2 separate regions of the Homo sapiens genome follow, and region 1 is linked to region 2. The links are contacts of gene promoters, found by promoter capture Hi-C in human tissues and cell types (Jung and others, 2019). All regions are on one chromosome and are shown on one strand. The core of a region is centred on a gene start or on the middle of the fragment in contact, and the rest is flanking DNA. Distances in the headings are between cores, read along the strand shown.

Evidence for each region. Contacts are between HindIII fragments. The study calls those that stand out against the background at their distance.
Region 1: a contact is called between a fragment that was not itself captured here and the fragment with the promoter of RASD2 in region 2, in 1 of the 25 tissues and cell types used here (bladder).

Annotation. Positions count from the first base shown.
Region 1 is chr22:35,990,186-35,993,866 of GRCh38, reverse strand. All of the region lies in intron 1 of RBFOX2 (RNA binding fox-1 homolog 2), which reads left to right. Among named protein-coding and RNA genes, the nearest start is that of RBFOX2, 37 kb to the left of the region's middle. The HindIII fragment of the contact is 4,413 bases long and covers 1-3,458 here.
Region 2 is chr22:35,539,403-35,542,806 of GRCh38, reverse strand. It overlaps RASD2 (RASD family member 2), which reads right to left and starts at 1,976. Exons shown (of 3, transcript NM_014310.4): 1 at 1,307-1,976. RefSeq lists enhancers at 1,626-2,188, 2,189-2,751, 2,752-3,314 and a silencer at 2,285-2,504. The HindIII fragment of the contact is 17,894 bases long and covers 1-3,404 here.

The DNA of each region.
Region 1 (3,681 bases), core at 3-2,502, 450 kb before region 2:
TACGGGTGCCTGCCACAGCACCTGGCTAAATTTTGTATTTTTAGTAGAGAAGGGGTTTTACCATGTTGGCCAGGCTGGTCTTAAACTCCTGACCTTAAGTGATCTATCTGCCTCGACCTCCCATAATGGCAGTTTGGGATTCATAACACAGTGCACTACAACATACCCTCCCTATTAGTTATTTCTCGCTGTGTAACAAATTAGCCCTACACTTACTGGCTTCAAACAACAAACACTTATTATCTCATAGTTTCTGTAGGTCAGAAATTTGAGACAACTTAGCTGTGTAGTTCTGTCCCAGGATCTCTCATGAGGTTTCAGTCAAGCTTTTGACTGGGCTGCATTTATCTGAAGGCTTGACTGAGGCAGGAGGATCTACTTAAATTTTTGCTTTATGCTGTTAGAAGCAAGTCTAGCTCCTCTTAAGGGGAGGAAAAGCAGGACCTACCTTTTGAATGGAGTAGTATCAAATACTTTGTGAGCATATTTTAAAACCATTACATCCACCTTTATTTTCTGCTATTTTCCCCTGTTAACATACCTGTGTTTTAATAACTGCCTCTGATGATGGTCAGAGTCCAGTGGCTAAAGTTCATTTTACCCTCAGCTGCTATTTCAGTATTACTTGGAACAATTCGATTCATTTTGATGATGCAAACTCTGACCTGTAATCAAAATGGTCCTTTTGAGGCGCAAAGGTGAATTTAGCTTTGCTTGGGCTTTTAACACTTGTATATGCATCTGTTTATGTCCTTTCTGTCTTATGTGTTCCTTAGTTGATTCTTAGTAGTGGAATAAAGCTGTTTGGACATTACATGGTAAATATGTTAAAACCAGTATTGTATTATGTTTTTGTATGTTATGTTTTGCTTGAGATTCAGAGCACTTAATAACCATTCTGTATCTCATCCTACCTCTGAGAAGTTTGAAAGTAAAGCAAGGTATCCTGTTTTCTGCCTCCAAGTAGGGAAAGGGAGGGGAGTTCATTTACATACGAGGCTGAGTGGAAGATGTGAGGGAATTCAGAGTTGTAAGGCAGAGACATAGATGTTTCCAGGAGTGGGTTCATCCTTACTAACCTTCATCTTGTAGCTGTTTTGTTTTTGGCTTAGCTTCGAACTTCTGAAGTTTATACTGAAGCAAGAGGCAAGACGTATTGGATAAATGACCCAGGAGACATAATCAGTAAAGGTAAATTTCCATCTGCTTTGGGTCAAAATGGAGCTTTTTTATAAGGAAACTAGGTATCATAATGGGAAGTGGTTGGGTTATGAGAGGGTTCAAGAATCAAGAGAATAAGTATTCAGTTAAAACCATTTGATTTCATTTTTTTTCTGGTGTTTTAGTAAGCTTTAATCAGGTATTTCCTAAGGAATTTAAAATTATCTCTTAAGTTTGAGAAGTCTGCCGGGCTAGATGAATGGATTGTTAGTTTGTTGCCTTGGACAGAGACTTAAAGAACTCTTGAATCTACATTCTGTTATCTTCTGTATCCTTGTCATCTTTGTCATTAGTTGAATACTTAAACATAGTTTCGAATTGTTACTTGTGTGTGTGTGTATGTGTATGTGTGTGTGTGGTTATCTGTTGTCTCTCTAAGCAGAGTTAATTTTCTTGAGGACCATGCCTTTTATTTCTTTGCGTTCCCTCTGCTAGTAATGATACTTTGAGTTGTATATTTCAGAGGATATATCTTAAGCATATTGGCAACATCCGCTGGTGTGGCAAGGTAAGAGTCAAGTGGAGCTCAGTGGTTAAGAGTTTGGGGTTTAGAGTCCTATTGACTTTGCTGTTTAATAGATTTATTACCTTAGGCAAGTTTCTCAATTTCTCTGAGGCTCAGTTCCTTCATCTGTAAAATGTTAATAATAGTTTCTACCTCACAGAGTTGTGAGAACTAATGAGATATTGCAAGTAAAGCACTTAGCCACAGGAGTGGTTACATATATTAGGTGTGTAAAAAAGTAATTGTTTGATTTGTTAATTTTTATTTTTGATTAGAGGTATCCAAGTTCTTGAATCTTGAGGCCTCATTTTTATTAGTTCATCAGTCATTATCGGAGGTGCCAGAAACCTGAATCTGGTGCCCGTTCTTGTCAGCCTGAGTCGGTCCACATCATAAGTAACTTCATTCAGAGAGTTTTCTTGTTTGCTTTGGCAAAATAGATATTTTAGGCCGTGGTTTCTTCCTTGCAGAATCTCAGGGTTCTTCCTCTCTCCAGTGACCAGAGCTGCCATTGTTTTCAATGTTTGGTAGGTGACATGGTATTTGGATTACCCTGTTCTCCTCTGCTCTTCTGACTGTGACTCCTAAAAGCTCACTTAAACCTGGCTGATGCTGACTCCTGTCCAAAGGCCCAAGTCCTCCTGCCTCCCTCCAATTTTCTGTTAAGGAATTCTTTGGACTAATTTTTTTTATCTTTTAAAGAAACCTTGCAATACCCAAACAGACCATTCTTTCAACTCTGCACTCCTTGGTCAGCATCCAGAATGTAAATACTTGTGGCCATCTGTATATTCCTCTGTTGTCAGGCCTAACTGACTTTATACTTTTTCTCTTCCATTCCGATCTTCCGGTGGCTCCTCATAGACTGTCCCATTTTTTCCTGTTGCACAGTGAGCAAACTTCCTTCATCTTCAGCCTCTTAACTGCATGTTATTTTTACTCCTTTCTCTTAACTAAATTTGTTTTCTTTCTCAGGACTTTACATCCTCTATCTCCCTTCTAGTGGGTGGGTTTTTTGTTTTTTGTTTTTGTAATTTTTAAAATTTAGAGATGGGGTCTCTCTGTGTTGCCCAGGCTGGTCTCAAACTCCCAAGCTCAAGTGATCCCCCTGCCTCAGCCTCCCAAGCAGCTGGGACTACAGGTGTGCAACACCATGCTTGGCTTAGTGGGTGTTTCGGTGTTCCTTGTTCTCCTGTATTACAGAGATTAGTATTCTGTTGTTCTCTCTCTCCCCTCTCCAATGCTTACATAAAATCCTATACCCTTGGGTGAAATTCCCTGTTCCTTAAAAGCTCGTGTAATCTGGCTAGTCTAACCTTTTCCCTTATGCAGTACTGTCATTTATTGTTTTGTCCCTCCCTCATTTAAAAAATGAACAAAAACTTGTAGCTCTTGGATTGTGGGCTTTCTTCTTACCTTAAGTATTGCTATTGTCTTAAGAGACTCCAGTGTCTGTGTGGAAGACTGATCCAGCACCTTAGCTAGTCTTATGTCTGGTTCTCTAATTAATCTGTTTCATTGCCTTTCTTCTCTTTCACCAACTATTCTAAGGCCACATTTTGGGGTTAGTCAATTTAGAACTGCTTAATTTCTGAAAATTTAAAGACAAGCGTCTCATTTTCTCATTAAGACTCTTCAGTTCTCTCATTTAATTACCCCCACTGCCTCTTTTCTCCAATGTCATTGAGAAAGCCAGTGCATTGGCCCTCTCTGTATTCTCTCCCTTTTTGTTAACTCCCCTGTCTTTGCTCCCTTCCCTGTCTTGTTTCGACTTTGTCGTCCTTCTCTTAAACAGCTCTTTGGCCAATATCCTCTCTTTATTTTCATTTTTCATTGTATTTTTCCTACCTGGCAAAACTCAGTACAGCTCTCTGCCTTCCTAATATCCAACCTTTCCTAGACCCTTGACTCCTGCCTGGTAGTATTTCTGTGTGTGTTTTTTGTTTTTGTTTTTG
Region 2 (3,404 bases), core at 727-3,226:
CTCCCTTGAGCCTCTCTCCCAGGGCCTGCCTGAAAGATGAAGGGGTCACACGGGCACAGGCAGCAGGACAAGAGTCTGGACGTGTCCTCCCGGTGTATGCCCCAGAGCCTGTTTCACTGCACTGCCCCTCCTCCACACCCCCATGCCTCCTCCATCAGTGCACACTCAGCCTCTTTGGACACGCACATTGCCATCACTGGCTTCCAGCTGCCACTCTGAGAGTCCGGGAGCTTGGCAAAGCCAACCCCACCACCCTTGGCAGCTCAGGTGGTAGAAGGTAGGCAGGCATCCACTTCTGGCAGGCCAACTCTGCCTCTCACCAGCCCGGCAGCCCTGGGCAAATGACTTGGCTTCCTGGGGCTCAGGTTATTCCTCTGTTAATGGTAAGACATAAACCCCCTGTGTGGCCCTGGGTTTCCAATAAGTCTGGAGGCTGACCCAGCTCTTGACCCGCAGCAAACCTGAACACATGCTGGGTTCTTTTCTTCGTGGCACTTTATCTTGGCAGTCGTGGGGCTGCCTAGAGCAGCCTGGTGAGGCTGGACTGGAATGCAGGCGCAGGTCTTGCAGGGACCCCATCTTGTCTCTGACACCACAGGAGGCTTGATTCACTGGCTCCTGACCTGGCTGCTCCCTCCCAGCCTGGCTTCCCACCTTCCATGAGGTCTTGGACAACATCCCCTGTCATCCTCCTGGTGCTGGGGACAAGGGGAGGGGAGGGCACAGAGAGGCCTCCAGAGCTGCCTTCCGGGCCCTCCAAGACAGCTAAGTTACAGGAAACCCCTCCTGGGAAGGGAATCATCCAGGAAACTCACTCTGCACCAACCCAGAAAAAGCTCAAGAACTCTGGATAACGAAGGAGCTTCTTAATCTTCCTTCCCCACCTCCAGGTAATGCAGGCTGCAGCCAGCTCCAGAAGAGGGACAGGAGTGTTTGTGGTAGTTGACTCGTCTTCCCTGAGCCCCCGTTTCCTCCTATTTAAATGGGCTATTACTCTAGCTCTTTAAATGCAAAGCCTGTGGCACCAAAACTAGCACATAGTAGAAGCTCAATAAATCTTTCTTTCCTGGGATTAAGTCAAGGGTATAGCACTCAGTTTGACACATACAGTAGGTGCTCAACGAATTTAATTCTCTCTAGGTATGCAAAGTTGCCAGACGATCCCGGCACATAGTAGGTGCTCAATCAATTTCACTTTCTCTGGTCATCTAAGGAATCACTGAGCTTTCCTCCTCCAAGCCTCTACCCTTTCTTCCCGGCTGCTCCACTTCCCCCAGATGCCCAGCTCTGTTGGGGCGTCTCCTACCTGGGAATGGCGGGCCGGGCCTCTGGCACGGCTCAGAGAGCTGCCTGGAAGCGCCGGGAGCTGCGGGGAGCTGCCTGCTGCTCCAGCCGCCGAGCCTCCCAGAGTCTGTGGTGGCTCCCGGGTCACTGCGCGGGGATCCTCCCCTGCGCTGCTCGGGACGCCGGGCTGGGCGCGGCCGGGCAAGGAGGCGCAAGGGGCAGGTGCCCCATGGGTGGGCTCCGAGGGCTCGGCGGGGCCCGGGCAGGGGGCGGGCTCCGGCTCGCCGCCGCCGGCCCTGCCCTGCCCCGAGCCGGGGGCCTCCTGCTGAGCCAGGTGCCCGGAGGCTTGGGGACGTCCGATCCGGGGGTCCCCGCCTGGGGCTCTCGGGCTGGGGGCAGAGAGGTAGGGGCGACTCCAGTGATGAAGGAGCAGCTCCTAGAGACTTGGGGAGGGGGGGTCCTTTGGAGGTGACTGTGGGTGCGTGTCCCAGGTGGGCGAACCCTCCTGGTCGCCTATGCCACCTTCTCCGCCTGCCCCAAAGGGGGTCGCTCGGATGGGGGGTATCGGGCTGCCGGGCTCGGCCGCGGCCTCCTTCTCTGCCCGCGGCTCTGCAGCTCTCCCAGCGCCGGAGGGACGGCTTCTTTCTCCCCGCGCGGCGACGCCAGCAGCTGAAGGAGGAGCAGGGCGCTCTGCTCTGCGCGCGTGTGGGAGGGGGCCTTGAACGCCGCCCCAAGGTTTCGCAGCTCCAAGTTAGCATCAACCCGGCTCCTCCTCCTTCACCTCCTCCTGTCCCCAGATGAGGAGAACTTTGTGTGTGGCCCTGGGTTCTCCCTCCTTCCCCCTCTCGCAGGCAGATGCCCCACTGTCACCCGCAGGGCGAAGAGGTCGCTGATCCCTCCGAAAGGTGGCAGAACCCCAGGCTCCTGATGACGGTCCCAGCGGCACCCTCCCGCGCCCCTGCGAGCGTCGCCCACCTGCTCCTTCGGCCCCCCGCGAGCCGCGCCTCCCGCCGCCCAGCGCCAGCGTCTGCCCCCCAGAGCCCGCTCGCCCCGCCCCACCCCGGCGCCCCGCCTCGCCCCGGCGCCCGGCCAATGGGAGGCGGGTCCCGCGGCCCGGCCCCGCCCATCCCTTTCGCGGCCTCCGGGGCGCCGCGGTCTGCGGTTCCGCGTGTCCGGGCGCGTGGGGCCGGGGCCGCTGGGCGCGCGCACCTTGCCCAGAAGGCGGCCCGGGCCTCGGAGGCTGACGTCTGCGCACGCGCTCACACGCACGCCCGGCCTGGCCGCAGGTGACCCGCATGGGGTCCGGCCGCCTGCCCACTCGGCCGGGGTCTCCAGCGGCTTGCGCCCGGCCAGGTCGAGCGCGCCACGGTTCCAGCGCCCTCCTCCTTCGCGGAAGTCCCCGGGTGCCCTCCCAGGTGTCCAACCTGCCTGTCCCAGCCGCCGCCTCCCTCCCGAGCTCACGGTGCCCACGGGACCCTGCGGACTGGCACATGGGCCATGCACGTGTCGCCCAGAGGGGCGGGGAGTCACCTAGGCTTAGTAGCCAGAGGTCTTCGAGGCATGCGAGTCTCAGAGACCACGGCCGACGGGGACACACCAGGTGCCTTGAGCATTGCGTCTCCTGCCTGCATTCTCCCTCCCCACCTTTAAATGAGGGGCTTGACCTAGGCCAGACATCGGGCCTTCTCACTGGGCCATATCTCCACACCACTTATTACTTAATATATTTTTTAAAATATCAGATCCACTTTCCCCACCCCTTAAACACGTTTTTTTAGAGAATCATTATATCACTGCCTTAAATGGGAAATCAGTATCACTTGCCATAAATAGAAAGTAAGAGTTAAAATAAGCACAGTGAAAACAAAGCAAGGTTATTAAATTCCAGCTGGAAACCGTGGCCTGCCAAGGCTTGAGATGTGTGCCCTCAGTGAAAAAGGGAGATTGGCAAGGTTTGGAGAGGTGTTAAATACCCATTAGCACCTAACAGAGACTTTCTCCTTCACATATCAGGAGGCTTAAAAGAGAATGTTCTCGTTGTGTGATACAGCAAAGGGATGGGATGCTGTGTCTGTGTCCCTCAGTTCCAGATCCCTGGACCTCAGGGATGTCTGCCAGCC